5 separate regions of the Homo sapiens genome follow, and all the other regions are linked to region 1. Evidence: promoter capture Hi-C in human tissues and cell types (Jung and others, 2019). All regions are on one chromosome and are shown on one strand. The core of a region is centred on a gene start or on the middle of the fragment in contact, and the rest is flanking DNA. Distances in the headings are between cores, read along the strand shown.

Region 1 (2,700 bases), core at 140-2,639:
CAGATCACCTGAGGTCAGGAGTTCAAGACCAGCCTGGTCAACATAGTGAATCCCATCTCTACTAAAAATACAAAAATTAGCTAGGTGTAGTGGCGCATGTCCCAGCTACTTGGGAGGCTGAGGCAGGAGAATCGCCTGAACCTGGGAAGCAGCGGTTGCAGTGAGCCAAGATCGCCCGCCACTGCCCTCCAGCCTGAAAAACAGAGCGAGACTCCATCTCAAAAAAAAAAAAAAAAAAAAAAAAAATGGTGGTGAGAATAAGATTAGAACAAAATTCGGTTTCAGTCTCTGCTCAGATCCTGTTTCATGGATGTCTGACTCCACTCAAGGAGGCTTTGGGGATACAGAATCTAAGCACTAACGGTCCTCGGAGGTCTTCTGGGGATAAGGTTCCCTGTCCATTTCCCTAGGAATCACCTCTATGGTATCCTTCTGTGTGCAAAGGAACCCACAGGGGAGGAGTAAAGATGGAGCCTTCGATTCAAGAAAGTAACTGCAGACAAGTAACTAAGGCTCAGTTTCCTCAGGTGCAAAATGTGGGTAATTGACTTGCCTAATACATAGGATCGCTGAGAAGGCCCAACGGCTAGGATTACAAGCGTTGGAATTACAAGAGTCCCACCTCTGCTCTGTCCTTTACTAGCTGTGTGGACCTTATACACTGGTAAGTCCTTAATTTCACGGAGCTTCAGTTTCTCTTCAGTAACATATTTGTAATAGTATCTACCTCCTAAGGTTGATCTGATGATTAACCAGAATAATGAATATAAAATGCTTAGCAAAAACGTGGCACGGAGTGAAGTACTCAGCAAATATTGGTTATAATGGTTGAGGAAATGACATGCACTATATACATGAGGTTTCATTGTCTGAAAACATGCACGATTTGTTACCAAAAGACTTATCCTGGGCCGGCGCAGTGGCTCACGCCTGTAACCCCAGCACTTGGGGAGGCCAAGGCAGGAGGATTGCTTGAGACCTGGGCAACATAGTGAGATACTCTCTCTACAAAAAATCAGCCCAGCATGGTGATGTGTGCCTGTACCCCAGCTACTCCGGAGGCTGAGGTGGGAGGATCCCTTGAGCCCAGGAGCAGTGAGGTTGCAGTAAGCAGAGATCGCGCCACAGCACTCCAGCCTGCGCGACAGAGCAAGACCCTTTCTGAAATAAATAAATAAATAAATAAATAAATAAATAAAGCGATTTTAAAAAGAAAAGAAAGACTTATTCTGGAGGATTGGCTACATAGTGCAAATAAACAGAACAAAAATCTAGGGCCGCTGTAGCGGGCAAATTCGTTCACCAACTCCAACCAGACCCCGCCTCCAAGCAGGCAAGCCCCGCCCTCCCCAGGCTGCACCCTTGTCCCCGCCCCGATGCGCCTGCGCAGGGCCGGCCGCCGGCGGCCGAGGCGATGAGGGTGTTGGTGCGGCGCTGTTGGGGTCCTCCGCTGGCTCATGGCGCCAGGCGTGGGAGGCCGAGTCCCCAGTGGCGAGCACTGGCCCGACTCGGCTGGGAGGACTGCCGGGACTCCAGAGTCCGCGAGAAGCCTCCCTGGCGGGTGCTCTTCTTCGGCACGGACCAGTTCGCCCGCGAGGCGCTGCGGGCGCTGCACGCCGCCAGGTACCCGGGCCAGGGATCCGGGGACCCGGCCGCTGAAGGCCTCCAGGCCGCGCCCGGGCGGCCGGCCCCGAGGGTTTTGGACTTCTGGTTGCGGAAAGCATGGGCGGCAGAGCGGTGTGGGCCCAGATCTCGGCGTCTTCTGGCTCCCAGAAGGTGCGCCATTCCCGCCGGTCAGCCTTTGGGCGCCTAGTACCTGCGGTCTGCGCCCCTCACTCCCCGCCGCCTCTGTGGGTTCTCCAGGCGCCCTGCCACCCACGCTGTGCCGAGCTGGGGCTGGGCGCTCTGCCTGCATCCCCCGGGCCAGTCCCACGGCCTCCCTGCCCGTTTTGAGTGTGGGGAATCCGTGGCTCAGAGAGGTTATGCGATTGCCCAAGGTCATCAGCCGAGGTGGTTCGGACTAAAACCAGGTCCCACTTCAAAGTTCCCTGCTTTGCAGTTCCTCCTGACCCCCATCCTTCGGCACACCCGTGTCTCGCTCTTTTGCTCCCCCTGTGCTCCTTGTATACAAGGACATAGTCCAAAAACGACCTGTTTTCAAAAGAATAAATTTATAAATCAGAACTGTTAGGTATACATTTAGTATTCATAATATTTAACAAGTTTTGTTTACTGGGAAAGAAAATTATTTGAAATCCAACCAGTCCTGAGAGTCCATGGTATGTGGTGGCAATACCGTATATACTTCTCTGCCTCTTTTTCCCAATTAATGTTTTTTATTTCCCCATTCTGTTTTTTTCTGACGCAGTCCTCCTTCCACTTTTTTTGGTCATCTCCATCTCCTTTTCCCTACAGATACTTCACAGCAGCCCCTCATGTATTGAATCCTTCGTCAATCCCCTGTGTGGTTTTCCTTCCTCCACACACCCCTCTGTGCACACACCCGGAAGGAAACCCCATGTTCCCTTTGCACACCCTTCATGGGCTGCTGTTGTCACATGCGTCTCTCACTGCATTTATACATTTATACCAACACTTTTTTTGTTTGTTTCTGAGGCGAGGTCTCGCGCTGTCCCCCAGGCTGGAGTGCAGTGGCCGGCTCATAGCTCACTGCAGCCTCGACCTCAAAGATCAAGCAAT
Region 2 (2,700 bases), core at 163-2,662, 110 kb after region 1:
TAGAACATGGAGGCTCATTCACAACTCTGTTTATAGTATACTCCATCAAGACAGCACTGGATTCCCCAGGGCCACTGAGCCCTTCCAAGGCCAAGCCAGGCCAGGCTGGCAGGACCAGACAGCAGAACCCTGAGCTTGAACCTGGGTGTATTCACAGGGTGCCCTCCTGCTGGCCCCTCCCTCCCACACTCCAGTTCAGATCTTGTGACCCACCACATAGGGGCATGGTTCTCTGGGATGGATTTTCCAACCCAAATGCTTTCAGGCACTCCCACCACTGCCAACAGGATCCTAACAATGGCATGGGACAGACCTCTTATGTGCCACAACCCTTTTACATCTGGTGAAGCCTATAGACCCCTTCTCAGAATATTTACTTAAATGCAAAAAAAAATTATACAGGAAAAAAAATTAATCAAATACACAGGCTTACAATGGCGTATTAGTTTCCTATTGCTGCTATAACAAATTACTATAAGCTTCATGGCATAAAACAGCATAAATTTATTATTTTACAATACTAGAGGTCAGAACTCTAAATTGGGTTGGCAATGCTGTGTTTCTTCTGGAAGCTCTTGGGGAAAATCCATTTCCTGGCCTTTTCCAGCTTCTAGAAGCTGCCCGAATTCCTTGGCTAGTGGCTCACATCACTCCAGCCCTGCCTCCTTCATCACACCTCACACATATCACATCACACCCAACAAATTCCTATTGGTGTGTTAGGTTGTGGGGGTTCAGAGGTTCTAGGGATTAGGATATGGACATCTTTGGGGTGCCATTATTCTGCCTACCATAAAAGGAAACCAATTATATTGAAATTAAGTTATGAAAATATTACAAACCAAGTTTTCAATCTAGTAACATATGTGTTTCCTTACTGACCCGTTAAACAACAAGATCTAGTGAAGGGTCTAATCACTGCCATAATTTCAATGTAATGATAAGTGTAAGAAGTATTTTAAGATAACTGCAAAAATTTTCATGTGATATGAAAATAGCTAAATTTTCTATTAGTGACAAAGTCACAAGTACTAATATTACCTACATTCATGATTGGAAAAAATGCTAATTAGCCGGGAGTGGTGGCACGCGCCTATAGTCCCAGCTACTCTGGGGGCTGAGGCAAGAGAATTGCTTGAACCCAGTAGGCGGAGGTTGCAGTGAGCTGAGATCATGCCACTGCACTCCAGCCTGGGTGACACAGCAAGACTCCATCTCAAAAGAAAGAAAGAAAAAAATGCTAAATTTTCAAGAAGTTAGCCAAAATAAATATGCATTTTTTTCCAATCCAAGTTCATAGGTCCTCTGAATTTTCTCCAAGAACCCATGTGAGAACTCCTGGCTGAGGGATTTGGCCCAGAAATGTTTGCATTTTCCTATGGGCCACTGACACCCTAAAAGGTTAGACACCAGTGGAGGGATTCCAGGCACTCTCACTTGCTGGGGCCCTGCTCCCTCAAATCCCAGTGCAGGCTGATAGAGAAACTCGCCCACCATACCACACTTGGTAAATGATGCTTTGCTCCTTTCACCCCACCGCACTGAGCACAAGGGGTGCAGAGCCTGGCAGGAGGGTGGAGGAGACCTCACCTCCTTCTCATTTAATTTTTCTAACTACCCTCTGAGGGAGTTACTTTGATTTCTCTCTTGTAAATAAGGAGGCCAGCCAGAGGGCTGGGAACTCTCCCAACTCACCGAATAGTAAAGGGAGGTGGGGGAGATCAGATGAAAGAGGGACAGGCAGAGGCAGGTTGGGGGCTGGAGGGGCAAGCAGGGGTGGGGGACAGAGGTCGGGGGAGACCTGTGCATCCAGGCCAGGGGAGCCGAGGGGACAGGGGTCTACCAGCTGAGGCCTTACCTTGCTCTCACAGTGGATCTTGGCCCCTGAGTTTACCAAGATCTGGAGGATTCGTAAGTGGCCGAACCAGGCAGACAGGAGAAGCGCATTCATCCCAAACTAGGGGAGAGGACATAGAGGAGGTGAGAAGAATGTGGGAAGGCGTGGCTGTGCCAGCCAGGCCCTGTGCCTTATGACTAAACCATACAACCAGAAGGAACTATAAGTGCCACTTAATCCAGGGAGCTCCAAGCTTTAGGAGTTTAAAGACCAAGATTTTTTTTTTTTTAAATAGAGGCTGATGTACTATTGCAAACTTTTAAAATTTATTTTTGCTAAATGAAACTTAAAAATAAGACAGCTGCCGGCCAGGCTTGGTGGCTCACGCCTGTAATCCCAGCACTTTGGGAGGCTGAGGCAGGAGGATCACATGAGGTCAGGAGTTCAAGACCAGCCTGGCCAATATGGTGAAACCCCGTCTCTACTAAAAATAGAAAAATTAGCCGAGCGTGGTGGTGGGCACCTGTAATCCCAGCTACTTGGGAGGTTGAGGCAGGAGAATCGCTTGAACCCAGGAGACGGAGGTTGCAGTGAGGTGAAATCATGCCACTGCACTCCAGCCTGAGTGACAGAGTGAGACTTCGTCTCAAAACAAACAAACAAAAAAACCAGCTGCCATTTACTCTCATCACCATTTCATAAAGAAAGACCATTTTAAAAGAAAAAATTTGTAAGGAACCAATCTTAGAATATATACTTGACAAATAAAGCTTCATAACTGGGTGTGGTGGTTCACACCTGTAATCCCAACACTCTGAGATGTGAATCACTTGAGCCCAGGAGTTTGAAACCAGACTGGGCAA
Region 3 (2,700 bases), core at 132-2,631, 79 kb before region 1:
GATTTTGTTCTTTTTTAAAGGCAACAGACTCAATATTTAATGTAGTTTAAAATATATCAAAAATTAAATTCCTGGCTGTTGTATTGCTAAACGAAGGACAGATACTAGTCTTGATCTAACCCAAAAAGCCAAGAAGTGATGTGTGAATGAGTTCTTAATTCTTGGCTTTCAGGTTTAGTAGATACTGTTGACTAAGTGACTTTCTGACCAACAGTGAATGAGAGTTATAGATGTTCCACATCCTCATCATCGCTTGATATTGTGAAGCTTTTTAATTTTAACCTTAAATTAATGGTTGTATGTTTGTGTAGTGGTATCTCATTGTTTTATTTTGCATTCCCCTGATGACTAATGAAGTTAAACAACTTATCATATTGGCTATTTGGATATCCTCTTTTGTAAAGTGCATATTAAAAGTCTCTTGCCCATTTCTTATTGTTTATAGAAGTTCTTTGTATATACTGGATATGAGTCCTTTGTCATATAGATTTGTTGCAAATATCTTCTCCCACTCTGTGATTTGTTTTTGTTTTTGTTTTAACTCTCTTAATGGTATATTCTGATGAATGGAAGTTTTTTTTTTTTTTTTTTTTTTTGAGACAGATTCTCGCTCTGTCACCCAGGCTGGAGTGCAGTGGCGTGATCTCGGCTCACTGCAAGCTCCGCCTCCTGGGTTCATGCCATTCTCCTGCCTCAGCCTCCTGAGTAGCTGGGACTACAGGCGCCCACCACTATGCCCAGCTAATTTTTTGTATTTTTAGTAGAGACGGGGTTTCACCATGTTAGCCAGAATGGTCTCGATCTCCTGACCTTGTGATCCGCCCACCTCGGCCTCCAAAGTGCTGGGATTACAGGTGTGAGCCACCACGCCCGGCCAAATGGAAGTTCTTAACTTTTTTTTCTTTCTTTTTTTTTTTTTTTTGAGACAGAGTCTCGCTCTGTCACCTAGGCTGGAGTAGAGTGGTGTGATCTTGGCTCACTGCAACCTCCGTCTCCCAGGTTCAAGCGATTCTCCTGCCTCAGCCTCCCTAGTAGCTGAGATTACAGATGTGTGCCACCACGCCTGGCTAATTTTTGTATGTTTAGTAGAAACAGGGTTTCACCATGTTGGCCAGGATGGTCTCGATCTCCCAACCTCAAGCGATCTGCCTGCCTTAGCCTCCCAAAGTGCTGGGATTACAGGTGTGAGCCACTGCACCTGGCGGAAGTTCTTAACTTTAATGTAATCCAGTTTATCAGAATTTTCCTTCATGGTTAGTCTCTTTTGGAGTTGTTGTTGTTGTGTTTTTTTAAATTTAATTTATTTATTTATTTATTTATTTATTTGAGACAGTGTCTCATTTTGTTGCCCAGGCTGGAGTGCAACCTGGGCTCACAGCTCACTCATCTTACTGCAGCCTCATCCTCCCAGGCTTAAGCAATCCTCCTACTTCAGCCTCCCGAGTAGCTGGGGCTGTAGGTGTATGCCACCATACCTGGCTAGTTTTGTATTTTTTGTAGAGATAGGGGTCTTGCTTTGTTGCCCATGCTCATCTCAATCTCCTGGCCTCAACTGATCCTCCTGCCTGGGCCTCTCAAAGTGCTGGGATTATAGGCATGAGCCAACGTGCCTGGCCCGTTAGCCCTTTTGTAACTTAAGAAATGTTTTGACTATTACAAGGCCATGAATATAGTCTTTCATTTTTATCTTTGAGTTTTATTATTTTACCTTTTACATTTAAATCTACAGTCCACCTGGAATTGATTTTTAGGTATGACATGAGGTAGAGGTCAATATTGTTTTTGTTTTTTTTTTTCCCCAGATGGATATCAAATTAATCCAGAACAATTTATTTAAAAGACTTTCCCTTTCCAGCTACTCTACAGAGCCAATTTTGTCATAAGTCAAAGATTCATGTGTGGATATGTTTCTGGACTTTCTTTTTTGTCCTGTTGGTCTCTTTGTAAGTCTTTAAGTCACTCTCTTCATTCTCATAACTTGAAGGTCTTGCTATCTGATAGTGAAAGTCTTCCACTGTGTTGCTTCTCCAAGAGTCTCTTGGCTTTTCCTGGTCCTTTGCATTTCATTTAATTTTAGAATTAGCTTGCCAATTTCTACCAAAAAAAAAAGTGATGGAATTTTGATACATGGGATGAATAAATTAATTGGAGGAGAACTGCTATCTTTACAAGATTCAGTTTTACAATCCTTGAACGTGGTATGTTCCTCCATTTAACCAAATGTTTTATAGTTTTCCGTGTAGCGGTCTCATACATCTTGTGTTAGATTTAGTCCTAGAGAACTATACTAATATAAATGGTAACTTTTTAAATTTTCCTTTTTTTTTTTTTTTTTTTTTGAGACAGCGTTTCCTTCTTGTTGCCCAGGCTGGAGTGCAATTGTGTGATCTTGGCTCACTGCAACCTCTGCCTCCCAGATTCAAGCGATTCTCCTGCCTCAGTCTCCCAAGTAGCTGGGATTTCAGGCACCCACCACCATGCCCAGCTAATTTTTGTATTTTTAGTAGAGACGGGGTTTCACCATGTTGGCCAGACTGGTCTCCAACTCCTGACCTCAAGATAATCCTCCCACCTCGACTTCCCCAAGTGCTGGGATTTGGGATTACAGGTGTGAGCCACTGCACCTGGCCTAAAATGTTCCATTTCTAATAAAATTTTTAGAAGAGTCCATTTACATGATTTACTATTTATATAGAGAGA
Region 4 (2,700 bases), core at 76-2,575, 98 kb before region 1:
ACATTTCAAACCTGAATTATTTCTATTTGAAGAGGTATGAATGGTTGGACAGGGCAGGGATTGCAGACTGTGTGGATTTCCCCACCTTCCCTTCATGTCACTGGTCTCTTCTTGCCTCTGGAGGAAGCACCAGACACTATAGCCAGGCAGTTCAAGCTTCTCCACCGAAGTTTGTTTCAACCATGCTGGCTTTCTAGAAGTTACCCAATTGTGCTTTCCATTTGCCTGTCTGGATCTTAGCTGTTGTCATTCTGTTCATCTGGAGGGCCCTCAGTCCCATCTTTGCCATTTTAAGATCTCACTATTCAAAACCAAATACACATGCAGCATCCTTCATCCTTCCCTGATCTGGGCTGAGGTAACCTCCTGTTGCTTCTCACTTGCACCTGCTTTGGACCACATGCTGATTTATTTAGTAGATTGTAGGCCTTTGGTATTCACCAGAGATATTTGAGAGTGTACAAATTAGCAAATGCCACTCTAACAAATGATTTCCCATGTGTTGTTTAAAATGTAAATGAAAACTGGGATTCTTTTAGACCCTTAAGAAAGTTGTGTTGGAATATGACCATTTTGTATTCACCCAGGCTCGTTTGCTAGCTAAGTGATTGGCTTTTGCATACTAGCCTTCAGAGCGGCTAATTCACATCCAGACCTCAGAAACAGATGCCTCCATTGTGGTACTCTCAGGGCATTTGTAAATCAGAGGGAAGTTAGCATCTGCTTTGTCTACCCATCTCTTTTTCACTAGAAGGCAAAACCTGAGAGCTATTTAATATTCCCACACCTCACATCCTCTATGAGGTGAGTGCTCAGTAAACTTCTGCCAAGTGAATTTACCAGCATTTCCCAATATTAATCTTCCTCACTTTGGTCCAAAAGGAGGAGGAAATTTTAGGAAAATCATTATCTATAGAAATAAACAGACTTTGTGGCATTAAGTGACTTGAATGTAAAATGATTTGGTAAGTAGCAGCTGGTTGCATGCATATTTAAAATGAGCAGCTAACTTCTCTCTTCAAGATGTGTGCACCTCCAACTAAGTGCTGAATGATGAGGCTGGATGTTTAAGCAGGACCACGTTGCAAATTGTCTTATGGGCTATGCTAGAGTTCTCACTTATACTTAAAGCTTTGGGGAACCGCTGAAAGTTTTTTTTTTTTTTTTTTTTTGAGACGGAGTCTCGCTCTGTCGCCCAGGCCGGACTGCGGACTGCAGTGGCGCAATCTCGGCTCACTGCAAGCTCCGCTTCCCGGGTTCACGCCATTCTCCTGCCTCAGCCTCCCGAGTAGCTGGGACTACAGGCGCCCACCACCGCGCCCGGCTAATTTTTTGTATTTTTAGTAGAGACGGGGTTTCACCTTGTTAGCCAGGATGGTCTCGATCTCCTGACCTCATGATCCACCTGCCTCGGCCTCCCAAAGTGCTGGGATTACAGGCGTGAGCCACCACGCCTGGCCCCGCTGAAAGTTTTTAAGTGAAATGATGGCAAAGATCAGTGCCAGTAGAGCAGAGAAAGTTTTGGAGCATCCAGGAGAGAGAGAGAAGGGCAGAGAGATGGGTAAGGCTATTGGGCACGGGTAGTATGGAAGCATAAGCTGAGTGACGTCAGTGTGTAGGAGAATTGAGAGGTAATGAGTAATTCAAGTGATAGTGAATAATTGAGTAATTCAGAATTATTAGTGAATAATTCTCAAGTCAAAGAATTGAGAGATAATGAATAAAGGTATATGTGTATATACCCATGTACATATAAATAAATAATTTAAGGAACTCAGAGTACAGGAACTAAAGGGAAAAACAATGAAATGTCTTCCAGATTCTAGCCTCATCTACTGAATAAGTGAAGATAGCTTTTTTTTTTTGCTTTTTTTTTTTTTAAAAGACAGGGTCTTGCACTGTCGCCCAAGCCGAAGTGCAGTGGTGCAATCATAATTCACTGCAGCCTTATACTCCCAGGCAGGAGCGATCCTCCCACCTCAGCCTCCTGAGTAGTAGAGACTACAGGTGCACACCACCACACCTGGCTAATTTTTAAATTTTTTGTAGAGATAGAGTTTCGCCATGTTGCCCAAGCTGGTCTCGAACTCCTGGGCTCAAGCGATTCTCCCATCTTGGCCTCCCAAAGTTCTAGGATTAAGGGTGTGAGCCACTGTGCCTGGCCGATACCATTCTAATTAAGAAGGAAAACAAGGGAGGAGGAACAGGTTTAGGGTTGACAAGTTCAGTTGGGGACCTGTCGAGTTTGAGGTGTGTGTGGTACATCCTGGATAAGAGTTCATTAGCATGTAGCCATGAGTCAGAATGACCTTAAGGAGATTGTACAGCATGAGATGAGGGCCAAAAAGACAAAATCATAGGGAATGTCAAAATCAAGGTAGAAGATGAAGAGAGCAAAAAAGAGACCAAGAGAGGTCAGAGAGATGGGAGGAAAAGATAGACTCCCTGCTTCCTTCTGGAAAGTGGCAAGTGCTTAGAGAGAGATTGTGTAGTCTTGGTGATATGGTTTGGCTGTGTCCCCACCCAAATCTCATCTTGAATTGTAGCTCCCATAATTCCCACATGTCGTCGGAGGGACTTGGTGGGAGGTAATTGAATCATGGGGACAGGTCTTTCACATGCTGTTCTTGTGATCATAAGTCTCATGAGATCTGATGGATTTATAAAGGAGAGTTTCCTTGCACACGCCCTCTTTACCTG
Region 5 (2,700 bases), core at 28-2,527, 120 kb before region 1:
TTCCTAGTCTTATCTGCTAATGCATGACACTAACTTCCCAATTGGTTCTGTAAAAAAGGCCATTTTCTTACCAAGTTGTCTGATTTATTTACCATCTTTTTTTTTTTTTTTTTTTTAATTGAGCGGAGTCTCACGCTGTCCCAAGCTGAAGTGCAGTGGTGCGATCTTGGCTCACTGCAACCTCCGCCTCCCAGGTTCAAGCAATTTTCCTGCCTCAGCCTTCCAAGTAGCTGGGATTATAGGCACGCACCACCACACCTGGCTAATTTTTGTATTTTTAGTAGAGACAGGGTTTCACCCTGTTGGCCAGGCTAGTCTGTAACTCCTGACCTTGTGATCTGCTGGCCTCAGCCTCCCAAAGTGCTGGGATTGCAGGCGTAAGCCACCACACCCGGCCTTATTTACCATCTTTAATCCATTTTAGTACTATGGGTGAGTACATGGAATTGAAGTCTGGCTTAAATCTTCAGAAAGTTATATATCTATTTTATTTTATTTTTTTGAGACAGAGTCTCGCTGTGTCACCCAGGCTGGAGTACAGTGCCACAATCTTGGCTCACTGCAACCTCTGAGTCCCAGGTTCAAGCGATACTCATGCCTCAGCCTCCTGAGTAGCTGGGACTACAGGCGTGCACCACCACACCTGGCTAATTTTTTGTATTTTTAGTAGAGACGGGGTTTCGCCATGTTGCCCAGGCTGGTCTCTCCTGAGCTCAGGCAATCGGCCACCTTGGCCTCTGAAAGTGCTAGAATTACGGGCATGAGCCACCGCATCCAGCCAGAAAGATACATATCTAATTCTAGAAATAGCATGCAGTATCAGTCATAGTAACAGCCATGTGCTGACCTAAATAAAATTTCTTGATATTGTGTATTTAACCTGAAGTATTGAGCTAGTTTTTTTGTTTTGTTTTTTGGTGCTGAACATTTTGGTCTAATTCTTTGGCTTCTTAGAACATTTTAAAAAATCTATGTTTTGCTATCAGCCAAAGTAAATGTGTTCACACTAACATATAAGTTACTAACCTTCATTATACAGCAAAGCTAAAAAGTGGTGGGATATTTGGGGTCTTAATGAAAATTGTATCATTTAATTCCATAAATATTAAAATATTTGGGTACCTTTTAAGCTTTTTTTCTTTCCTTCTATAATGGTGGTACAAGTTCTATATTCATTCAGTTTAATCTCATTTGAAATTGTTTAAATCAGAGTACATGTAAATATTTGTGGGTTTTTTTTTTTGGTTTATAGACTCGAGCTTTCCTTTTACACAGTTTTTTTTAGGGAAAAACTAAAGCTATTAGGAAATTCTAAATCTTGTTGATGAAGAGTTGGGCTTTCTTTGATATAATTAATAAAAGGGATGTATGGTATTTATGGCTGGGTAGGACCAGAAATGCACTTTGTATTACAGAGTGTTAAGGCTGGTTGCTATAGTATGGAACAGAAACACCTCTCCTTGGTCTCCCTAGTAATGGTTCAAGTTCTTCCCAGGAAGTCTTACATATTATAACTTTGTTCATTATCTTTCCCTTATAGCATCATTTTCCTTTTTGTAGAGTGGAAATCAGACTAGCTGCTAAACATATTAAGGTTAATCCTCCAGAAATGTACTGGGGAGGCATTTTAGTCACAACAACTTACATTTGGCTTTGGAAGTTGTTAACAAAGCATAGTCGATGTTTTTAAATCAAACATAATTTGTATCTTGGAACTTACATTTTGACATTTGAATAAAACAAAAAGACTAAATGAAAGCCAACGTGGTGGTGTGTCCATACAGCAATGGTGCAGGAGCACTCTGCATTGACAACAACAAGCACAGCCAAACAGTGCCATTTTTAAAAGGGCACAGATGTCATATGAGCTGCTTCATTCTAGGGATTGATTAATCCTTGGCACTTCCATATCAGATAAATTCTAGCTGTAGATTCCACAGACAATGTCTGTTAAACATTTATCAAAAATCCTTACTTAAATGTCCCGCTTGACACTAGGGACACAGGCCAAGTTTTTCAGGAATCTTACTAGTCTTGTAGGGGAAACAAATACAAACTAAAGTGTATTTTAATAGTGGAAGTGAGATAGGTACCAGGTGTGGTGACATAGAAAGTGATGGCCTAGATAAGTCTGGAAGAACAAGTAGAAATTTGCCAGAAAAGAATAATGAGAACTAAATCAAAATCTCAGAAGTGTAAAACAACAACTAGGAAGCTGTAGGAGGTAAGAAATAAGCAACAACTGTAACTTCTTGTTAATACTCTGAAATGACCATTTAATATTCTCCTCTCCATCTAGCTAAGGATCTTGCTTCACATTTCATTGAAAAACCATTGATGGAATTCATCATCCCACCATCTATAAATCTATCTACTCCATCACTCAACCTTTCTCTCTAGTTACAACTGAAGTATCCCTCCTACAAAACTCAGTCACTCCCCACATGCTCTGGGTCTCATCATCCCCTCTCATTTCTCAAGGCCTTTAATTCTTTTGATCATGTCTCTACTATAGTATCTGTGTCCTTCCTTCTGAATTATTCCCAGTGGCATCCAAACACTGCTTAGTATTTCCTGTCCTATAGCAAATCTCCCAAGCTTATTTACGTATCTTTCCAACTACACCATAAGTTCCACAAAGATGGTGACCCAGCCTGTTTTGTTAACTATAACCAGCACCTACCATAGTGCTACATACAT

What was found. Contacts are between HindIII fragments. The study calls those that stand out against the background at their distance.
Region 2: a contact is called between a fragment that was not itself captured here and the fragment with the promoter of MTFMT in region 1, in 3 of the 25 tissues and cell types used here (dorsolateral prefrontal cortex, lymphoblastoid cells and mesenchymal stem cells).
Region 3: a contact is called between a fragment that was not itself captured here and the fragment with the promoter of MTFMT in region 1, in 2 of the 25 tissues and cell types used here (aorta and mesenchymal stem cells).
Region 4: a contact is called between a fragment that was not itself captured here and the fragment with the promoter of MTFMT in region 1, in 5 of the 25 tissues and cell types used here (aorta, dorsolateral prefrontal cortex, mesendoderm cells and 2 more).
Region 5: a contact is called between a fragment that was not itself captured here and the fragment with the promoter of MTFMT in region 1, in 7 of the 25 tissues and cell types used here (H1 embryonic stem cells, aorta, heart right ventricle and 4 more).

What each region holds. Positions count from the first base shown.
Region 1 is chr15:65,028,328-65,031,027 of GRCh38, reverse strand. It overlaps MTFMT (mitochondrial methionyl-tRNA formyltransferase), which reads left to right and starts at 1,389. Exons shown (of 9, transcript NM_139242.4): 1 at 1,389-1,623. The coding sequence starts at 1,415. RefSeq lists silencers at 1,237-1,426, 1,677-1,976. The HindIII fragment of the contact is 8,500 bases long and covers 1-2,700 here.
Region 2 is chr15:64,921,178-64,923,877 of GRCh38, reverse strand. It overlaps ANKDD1A (ankyrin repeat and death domain containing 1A), which reads right to left. Exons shown (of 15, transcript NM_182703.6): 4 at 1,859-1,957. Among named protein-coding and RNA genes, the nearest start is that of ANKDD1A, 11 kb to the right of the region's middle. The HindIII fragment of the contact is 3,028 bases long and covers 1-2,700 here.
Region 3 is chr15:65,107,379-65,110,078 of GRCh38, reverse strand. The region is part of intron 1 of UBAP1L (ubiquitin associated protein 1 like); the gene reads left to right. Among named protein-coding and RNA genes, the nearest start is that of UBAP1L, 6.5 kb to the left of the region's middle. The HindIII fragment of the contact is 4,545 bases long and covers 1-2,700 here.
Region 4 is chr15:65,125,936-65,128,635 of GRCh38, reverse strand. The region is part of intron 2 of PDCD7 (programmed cell death 7); the gene reads left to right. Among named protein-coding and RNA genes, the nearest start is that of PDCD7, 6.5 kb to the left of the region's middle. The HindIII fragment of the contact is 5,174 bases long and covers 1-2,700 here.
Region 5 is chr15:65,147,277-65,149,976 of GRCh38, reverse strand. It overlaps CLPX (caseinolytic mitochondrial matrix peptidase chaperone subunit X), which reads left to right. Exons shown (of 14, transcript NM_006660.5): 14 at 1-1,758. Among named protein-coding and RNA genes, the nearest start is that of PDCD7, 15 kb to the right of the region's middle. The HindIII fragment of the contact is 4,931 bases long and covers 1-2,700 here.